2 separate regions of the Homo sapiens genome follow, and region 1 is linked to region 2. The links are contacts of gene promoters, found by promoter capture Hi-C in human tissues and cell types (Jung and others, 2019). All regions are on one chromosome and are shown on one strand. The core of a region is centred on a gene start or on the middle of the fragment in contact, and the rest is flanking DNA. Distances in the headings are between cores, read along the strand shown. Region 1 has its middle 98 kb from the start of RBBP6. Region 2 holds the start of PRKCB (protein kinase C beta).

Evidence for each region. The method cuts DNA at HindIII sites, captures the fragments that hold promoters and counts their contacts. A contact is called where the count stands out against the background at its distance.
Region 1: a fragment that was not itself captured here is called in contact with the fragment with the promoter of PRKCB in region 2 in 2 of the 25 tissues and cell types used here (dorsolateral prefrontal cortex and mesendoderm cells).

What each region holds. Positions count from the first base shown.
Region 1 is chr16:24,439,512-24,443,232 of GRCh38, forward strand. No RefSeq gene overlaps it. Among named protein-coding and RNA genes, the nearest start is that of RBBP6, 98 kb to the right of the region's middle. The HindIII fragment of the contact is 9,139 bases long and covers 1-3,721 here.
Region 2 is chr16:23,834,733-23,838,673 of GRCh38, forward strand. PRKCB (protein kinase C beta) reads left to right here and starts at 1,251. Exons shown (of 17, transcript NM_002738.7): 1 at 1,251-1,616; 2 at 2,643-2,674. The coding sequence starts at 1,444. RefSeq lists silencers at 747-1,386, 1,417-1,496, 1,827-1,906 and enhancers at 860-1,407, 1,408-1,953, 2,217-2,356. The HindIII fragment of the contact is 26,630 bases long and covers 1-3,941 here.

The DNA of each region.
Region 1 (3,721 bases), core at 1,094-3,593, 610 kb after region 2:
CTGGAGGATGCTGCACTCAGGGAGGGCATGGAAGCTTCACGCCCCTTCCCCCATAGCTCGCCCTATGTATCTCTTCATCTGTATCCTTTGAAATATCCTTTATCACAAATGGCAAATGTAAGTAAGTGTTTCCCTGAGTTCAGTGAATCATGGGAACCCCAACTTGAAGTTCCAGAGGCCAGACTTGCAACTAGTGTGGTAGGGGGACAGTACTGGGGACTGAGCCTGGGATCTGACACTATCTCCAAGTAGATAGTGAAGGAACTGAATTAGAGGACACCCAGCTGGGGTCCACTGCTTGGTGTGTGGGGAAAAAAACCCACACATTTGGTCACAGAAGTCTTCTTCTGTGTTGATGATTGTTGTAGCGTGAGAGTAGAGGAAAAGTGCAGTTTGGGGAGAGTTTTCCCTACAAAGCTTTCCACAAGATGGAGACATGGTGCCTGGAGCCTCCCAATTTATTCCTATGGACAGATCTCTCCTGGCCTAGTTGCTGTGCCCTGGGAAGTTCTCCTTGAGAGATGCTTGCCTAAATCCGCACTCCTGCAATGGGATTTGTTAGCTCCAAGTTCTAGCCTAAAAATACTCCTCTCTGATATCAAGGACAAAATTTATAAACACAAAAGTGGTTATTACGGCTTAATCACAGGCTTGGTGGTAGTGACTCTTGGCAATCTCTCTAGGGTATTAACAAGAGCAGAGTAAATATGTCATGTAGGTGGTATTTTTAGTCTCATCCACCCTTCCGACCCAAATGGGAACATCCCTACAGAAGGTTCTTGTGACTTCCTGGGCCCCACCCCAGCCTTTGCTGCTCAGAAACCGTAGTCATGCATGCTATGGTGGCAGCCATGAAATGCAGTAGCAAGAAGGGGCAGGTGGTTGCTGCCTGGGACCCATCTCTTTCCTTGTCAGACGGGCACCAAAGTCCTGGTCCCAATAGGCTAATCTATGCTTCCTGATTTCGGTGACTGAGTCACTTCCCTTTGTAACCATGGGACCAGCCCAAACTGGGCCTACTCTGTTTATAAGCAAATGTGGGCTTGTCTTTTAGACGTAACAGAGCCAAAAGCTGCAAGTCAGGCAGCCTGGGCATATGCAATAGAAAAAGCTTTGACAAGACCAAGAACCAACAATTCCTCCCCTTTGGAACCAAGAAGACCGGGACATGGCCGAAACCTGAACACCAGAACTCTTCGAAAGCAAGGGTTTCACTGGCTGGAAAGATCTGGGCCAAAATCAGCCTCAACATATCTTTTTTTTTTTTTTTTTTTTTGAGGCAGAGTCTTGCTCTGTCACCCAGGCTGGAGTGCAATGGCACGATCTCGGCTCACTGCAGCCTCGGCCTCCTGGGTTCAAGCAATTCTCCGGTCTCAGACTCCTGAGTAGCTGGGATTACAGGTGTGTGCCACCATGCCCAGCTAATTTGTGTTTTTTTAGTAGAGACAGGGTTTCACCATGTTGGTCGGGCTGGTCTCGAATTCCTGACCTCAGGTGATCCACCCACCTCAGCCTCCCAAAGTGCTGGGATTATAGGCATGAGCCACCATGCCCAGCCCAACCTCAACATATCTTACTATAAATGGTCAAATTTGAAGCCCTCCAATCAAACCCTGCCAAGCTAACATTCCTAAATCTTTTCCCTTGTCCTCTGATTCTTTAAAACTTGTCCCAGAGCCCAAATCAGGGAGACAGATTTTTTTTTTTTTTTTGAGACAGCATACTGCTGTATCACCCAGGCTGGAGTGCAGTGACATAATCATGGCTCACTGCAGCCTCGACCTCCCAGGCTCAAGCGATCCTCCCTCCTCAGCCTCCCAGGTAACTGGGACTATAGGTGCACAACACCACGACCTGCTATTTTTTATTTTTTACAGAGACAGGGTTTCACTATGTTGTCCCGGCTGGTCTCGAACTTCTAGCCTCAAGAGATCTTCCCATCTCAGTCTCTCAAAGTTCTGGAATTACAGACGTGAGCCACTGCGCCTAGCCCTAGGGGGACAGATTTGAGCCTGACTCCTGTCTCCTTGCTGGCCGGTTTCGCAGTAAAGCCTTTCTTTTCTCAAATTCTGGTGCCACAGTTATTGGCTTCCATGCACATCAGGCTGCAAGCCCATTTGCTCAATAACACCTTCACAGGGGGAGGCGCAGCTGACAGTTACATGTATCTCATGGGAATAAAAAAAGTCCATCCTCTAAAAACCCTCTTTCTGCCAACTCTCATCCCCAGCATTGGCAGCACTGAAAAAAAGAAAAAACAAATAATCTCCGACTGAGCCCTAGAGCCATGAGCCTAACTAAAAGAGTTTTCCGAGCTACATCTTTTCTATTCAGTGCCAGAAGGCTTTAAACATGAAGTTTACACTCCATTCCGAAGGGTGGGCTCTAGGGTAGGTATTAAGCTGGTCAGGGCTGGGGTCAGGGACTAGACTGTCTCTCCCCACACCCCCTGGATGTGGAGGGCATGTTTTGTCAATACTTGCAATGAACCAGGCACCCTGCTAAATGCTTCATGTGTATCATTTCGTTCAGTCCTCACAACGGCCCTATGAAGCAGTTACTGATATTCCTTTTTTTTTTTGGAGACAGAGTCCCAGTCTGTCACCTGGGCTGGAGTGCAGTAGTGTGATCTTGGCTCACTACAACCTCCACCTCCCGGGTTCAGGAGATTCTTGTGCCTCAGCCTCTGGAGTAGCTGGGATTACAGGTGCATACCACCATGTCTGGCTACTTTTTAGTATTTTTAGTAGAGGAGGGATTTCACCATGTTGCACATTCTGGTCTCCAACTCCTGGCCTCAAGTGATCCACCCGCTTCAGCCTCCCAAAGTGCTGGGATTACAGGGGTGAGCCACCATGCCCAGCCTCTCCTCTTTTTGTAACTTTCTTTATATGACCTTCCCAGGGTCACATAACAAGGGGCATTTTGAAGGTGGACAAATTCCCTCTGAGCCTCTGCTCTTACCTATGAAGCAGATTTATCTGAGCCTCCCTATAGGTTTTCCCCTATAGTTTACAGTCTGTAGAAGCCATCCCCAACCTCTCTGGCAACCAGGACCAGTTTCGTGGAAGACAATTTTTCCATGGACAGCAGGGAGGGAGATGGATGGTTTGGGGATAATTCAAGCACATTACATTGAATGTGCATTTTATTTCTATTATTATCACATTGTAATATATAATAAAATAATTATACAACTCACCATAATGTAGAATCAGTGGAAGCCCTGAGCTTGTTTTCCTGCAACTAGATGGTCCCATTCAGGGGTGGTGAGAGACAGTGACAGATCATCAGGCATTAGATTCTCATAAGGAGCACAACACCTAGACCCCTCACATGCGCAGTTCACAATAAGGTTCTCCCGCCTATGAGAATCTGATGCGTCTGCTGATCTGACAGGAGATGGAGCTTAGACAGTAATGCTGGTTCGCCGAGCTCACTTCCTGCCATGCAGCCCAGTTCCTAACAGGCCATGGTCTGTGACCCCAGGAGTTGGGGACCCCTGGTCTATAGAATTTGTTGTTTCCAGCCCTACCTCAACAATTAACCTCACTTTTGCTCGTTTTCATTTGGGAAACCGTAATATTGTGATGTAATAAGAAATACATACTTGGTCTTTCTCCCCAGTTCCTGGTACAAGAGCTTCCTGTAATTTCCTGAGTGACAGAATGTTAGGGGCATCTGTTGTTATTCATAGTAAGGTCCTTTCAACCACACCTGA
Region 2 (3,941 bases), core at 1-2,500:
ATTCACTTGTTCATCCATGCCCTCACTCAATCAACCAATATTTACTGGGGTCTTGGGAGGTGTCAGGCACTGAGCTTGGTGCTGGGCGACATGGTGGTGAACAGCCCCCCTGCTCTCACAGAGCCTAGGTCTGGTGAAGGAGCTCACAGCCTAATGAAGCTCTGCGTTCCCAGAGTGGGGGACATGGTGGCAGTGGGTATCTTTAGGCCTTGTGCATGAACAGGGCGCTAAATAACATTGAATTACACATTGTAGACAATTATTACCCTTTCAGTTACCTTCAGATCACATCAAGGAGAGAGTCCTGGTTGGATAGTAATGTCTTTAACACCCCTCTAGCATTTATTAATTTCCTCTCTTAACAAATAAAAGATGACTTCAGTCGAAGATGCTTAGGACAGATGACGGCACCTGGAGATATTTTAATAATGTAGATACCTCTTGCTGTTCAAACTCAGACCAAAAGAGATAGGCTTTTTTTCCCCCAGAGGGTGCACAAATACGACCAGAATTTGTGAAGACGAGTCAGAAATGAATGAAATTTGGAAAAATATTGATCTACTGAAATCCTTCCTCCCCACACTATTAGCCCTATGTTACAGTTGGGGAAACGGAGTCGTTTTGCAGAGGGGATGGACAGAAGGTAGGGAGTTCTCTTCCAAACGTGCAGGAGGCAAGCAAAGCCAAGAATCTTCTCTGTGGTGGAGTTAGAGACATATAAAATAAAGATCGCTCCTCCCCTACCTCTGCAGAACGTGTGTGTGTATGTGTGTGTAAGTGTGTGCGGCCACAAGCCTTTCCGAATGAGTGACAGCGGGAGCCCATCCCTCCAGGAGACGCGTGCAGAATGACCAATGGGATGGATGGGGGTGGATGGGTACCAGTCTCCGCAGAGGCCGGGGTGGAATTCGCTGCGCCCCACCCCTTCCACCCGCTCCCCTTCGCCCCGTAGGTCTTTCCACTCTCGCTCCTCCCCTGGGCACATCTCCTGAACGCAGCCCCGGGGGCCGAGGACGGGGTGGGGTGGGGGGCGAGGCTCGGGTCCGACGACCCCGGGCTGCGGTCCCGGCGCTGCAGAGCTGCGGCTGTGCACGCTTAGCCGCGAGGCCCGCGGTAGCCCGGGCGCCGATATGTAAAGCAGCTGGCAGCGCTGGGCGGGGCCTGGGCGCGATGCAAATGAGGAGGGCGGGGCTGGCCCGGGGCTCCGCCTCCCTCCCCCGCAGCTGGGGCCAGCGGTGCCAAGCGCAGCTGGACGAGCGGCAGCAGCTGGGCGAGTGACAGCCCCGGCTCCGCGCGCCGCGGCCGCCAGAGCCGGCGCAGGGGAAGCGCCCGCGGCCCCGGGTGCAGCAGCGGCCGCCGCCTCCCGCGCCTCCCCGGCCCGCAGCCCGCGGTCCCGCGGCCCCGGGGCCGGCACCTCTCGGGCTCCGGCTCCCCGCGCGCAAGATGGCTGACCCGGCTGCGGGGCCGCCGCCGAGCGAGGGCGAGGAGAGCACCGTGCGCTTCGCCCGCAAAGGCGCCCTCCGGCAGAAGAACGTGCATGAGGTCAAGAACCACAAATTCACCGCCCGCTTCTTCAAGCAGCCCACCTTCTGCAGCCACTGCACCGACTTCATCTGGTGAGCGCGCGCGCGCAGGGCACCTTCCCGGGCCCCCGAGGGCAGCGCCGCGCCAGGGACCCCCTCTCCGCGCCCTCTGCGCCCTCCGCGCCCTCCGCACCCTGGGACCCCGCGTCTCCGGACTCCCGGCTCCGGACCCTGCTGCCCGGGACTCCCGGATGGACAGTCCTGCCGTTGCCCTGTCCCCACCCTGGTCCCAGACGGGCCGCCGCGGGGCGCCTCCTGCCCTCTCCTGCTCTCAGGCGCCTCTAGAGCGCCCAGGGGCGGCGTCGCGGGAGCCTTTGCTCCACCTGACTAGGAGCGCGCGGGGTCTGTGCCTGCCCTGGAGGGCAGCGCCTCGGGTGCTCTCCGACCCGGGGTTCCCTATCTCTCCGCCTGCTTCCGGGCGCGAGGAGCCCTCGCCCCCCACCCCTTGTTTCCGGGGGGGGCGGCGCCCTGGGTGTCCTTCTCTATCTCCCTGCGGGCATGGGACATCCTTTCTCACTCCTCTGTGCCTCCGGGCAGCGCCCTGTGTTATCTCCCATTGCCCCTCCCCGAGGGCCTGGGTTCCCCTTTCCACTCCTCGGTCACATCACTGCGGGCCCCTTTCTTCCCCAGTCCCTCCAGTAGTGGGGCATCCTTTCCTCCTTCCCAGTCCCCCTCCCAGAGGACACCACCGCCGCGGGGTCACTCTCGCCCTCCCTCTGAATGCGTCTTTATCTCTTCTCTTTTCCCGAGGGTGCTCGGGGCATCTATGGGTACATCTGTCGCCTGCCTTCAGCCCCTACCCCGACGGAAACGCTCCCCACTATCCCGCCACCTGGTGGTCGCAGCCTCCTCTCTTCTGCAGGAGTGAAGGCAGATGGGGGTTACAGCCGAGCTCCCACCTACCCCCACAAAGGCGGAAGACTCTTGGGCACCCGCCTGTGGCTGGGAGTTTGCACCTGGGGTACAGAGGCAGGGAGGAAGGCGGGTGACTCTGTGGGTAACTAGCTGGAGGCTGGGCCCCCCGGGCTGCCTGACATACACCTCCTTCTGCTTTTGCAGGGGCTTCGGGAAGCAGGGATTCCAGTGCCAAGGTAGGCTCTGGGGCTTTGGGGATGCTATTTGTGGGAAGAGAGGGTGAAAAATACTTTATAGAAGAAGTTACTGAGTTAGGCAGAGAGTGAAAGAATCACGTTGGTCGGAGTGACCTCCCAGGCTAGGAATTCTTCACCACAACAGGGTCCTTTCAAGGGGTGTGTGTGTGACTGGGGCCGATGGCGCTTGGGAGTCTTACATGCCAAGGAAGTTCACCTACCCTTCCTGCCTTCCCGGCTCTGGAAGAGTCAAAGCGGTCTCCTGAAGCAATCCTGGCATGGTCAGTTCCGCTGGGGGAGAAAGTGTTTTCCCGGGACGTTTCTGGGAGAACCTGTCCTCCTTAGTTCCCCTTTCTCTGCCCATGTCCCTTCCTTATCTCACCCAGGGAGGTTCTGCCTCTCCCTGCCTTGCAGAGGTCTCTGCAGGTGGCTGCCGCTCCTCTGCAGATGGTGCATCCCCTAGAAAGGCGACTGTGTTTGTCGCCTGGGCCTCCTCTCTCTCTGAAAGAAGTATTTCCAGAGGGAGTGTTTCTCAGATCCTGGTTTAAATCACCCTATCTTCTGGGTTGAAACAGAAAGGTCTCCAGGGCACTGGTTACCTGAGTTCTTGCATCTGGCTTGAGATCCTGGACTCTAACCAGGGGTATCAAACCTGCTGGTGGTGAGTTGATCACGTGTAAAGTGTCCCCCTCCCCCGTCTTTGGGGCTCATGTCTAAAAGACAGATTGCAAATTGGCTCTCCAGGACCAAAAGTTACCCGCAGCTCTGTGTAGCCCTTAGGGTGTCTTACTTGTGAATTTGATGTGAACGTTTTAGAACTGGGAGATTTCACATACACATCCTAATTTCCAACTTTAACTTTGCTGAGAAATGGTCTCACTTTCGCTTGAAAACAATCGTTTGGAGCTGAGAGCCGTCGTCGTAGATGGGGAACAGCCTTACCATTTTGTCTCAGTTGATCCCAGTGGGGAACACTTCACCCATTTCTGGCCCCTGTGGGCATTTAAGTTTGCAACCTCTCATCTGGAAAGTTTGTGTGTTATGTTTTCTTTTTAATTTAAATTTTAATTTTTCACTCTTGGGCTTGGTAAGATTGAGTTTGGTAAGAAACGGCACATTTCTGGGGTATTGTATCTTTAGGGGCAAAGTGACCACCACCCTGGTGAGCTGGGTTTAAATCAAAAGAAAGTATTTGAGTGTGGAAGAGTCTGACGTGATTTAGCACTGACTGACAGTTTTGTGGCTGCACCTCCACCCTCCAGGGAAA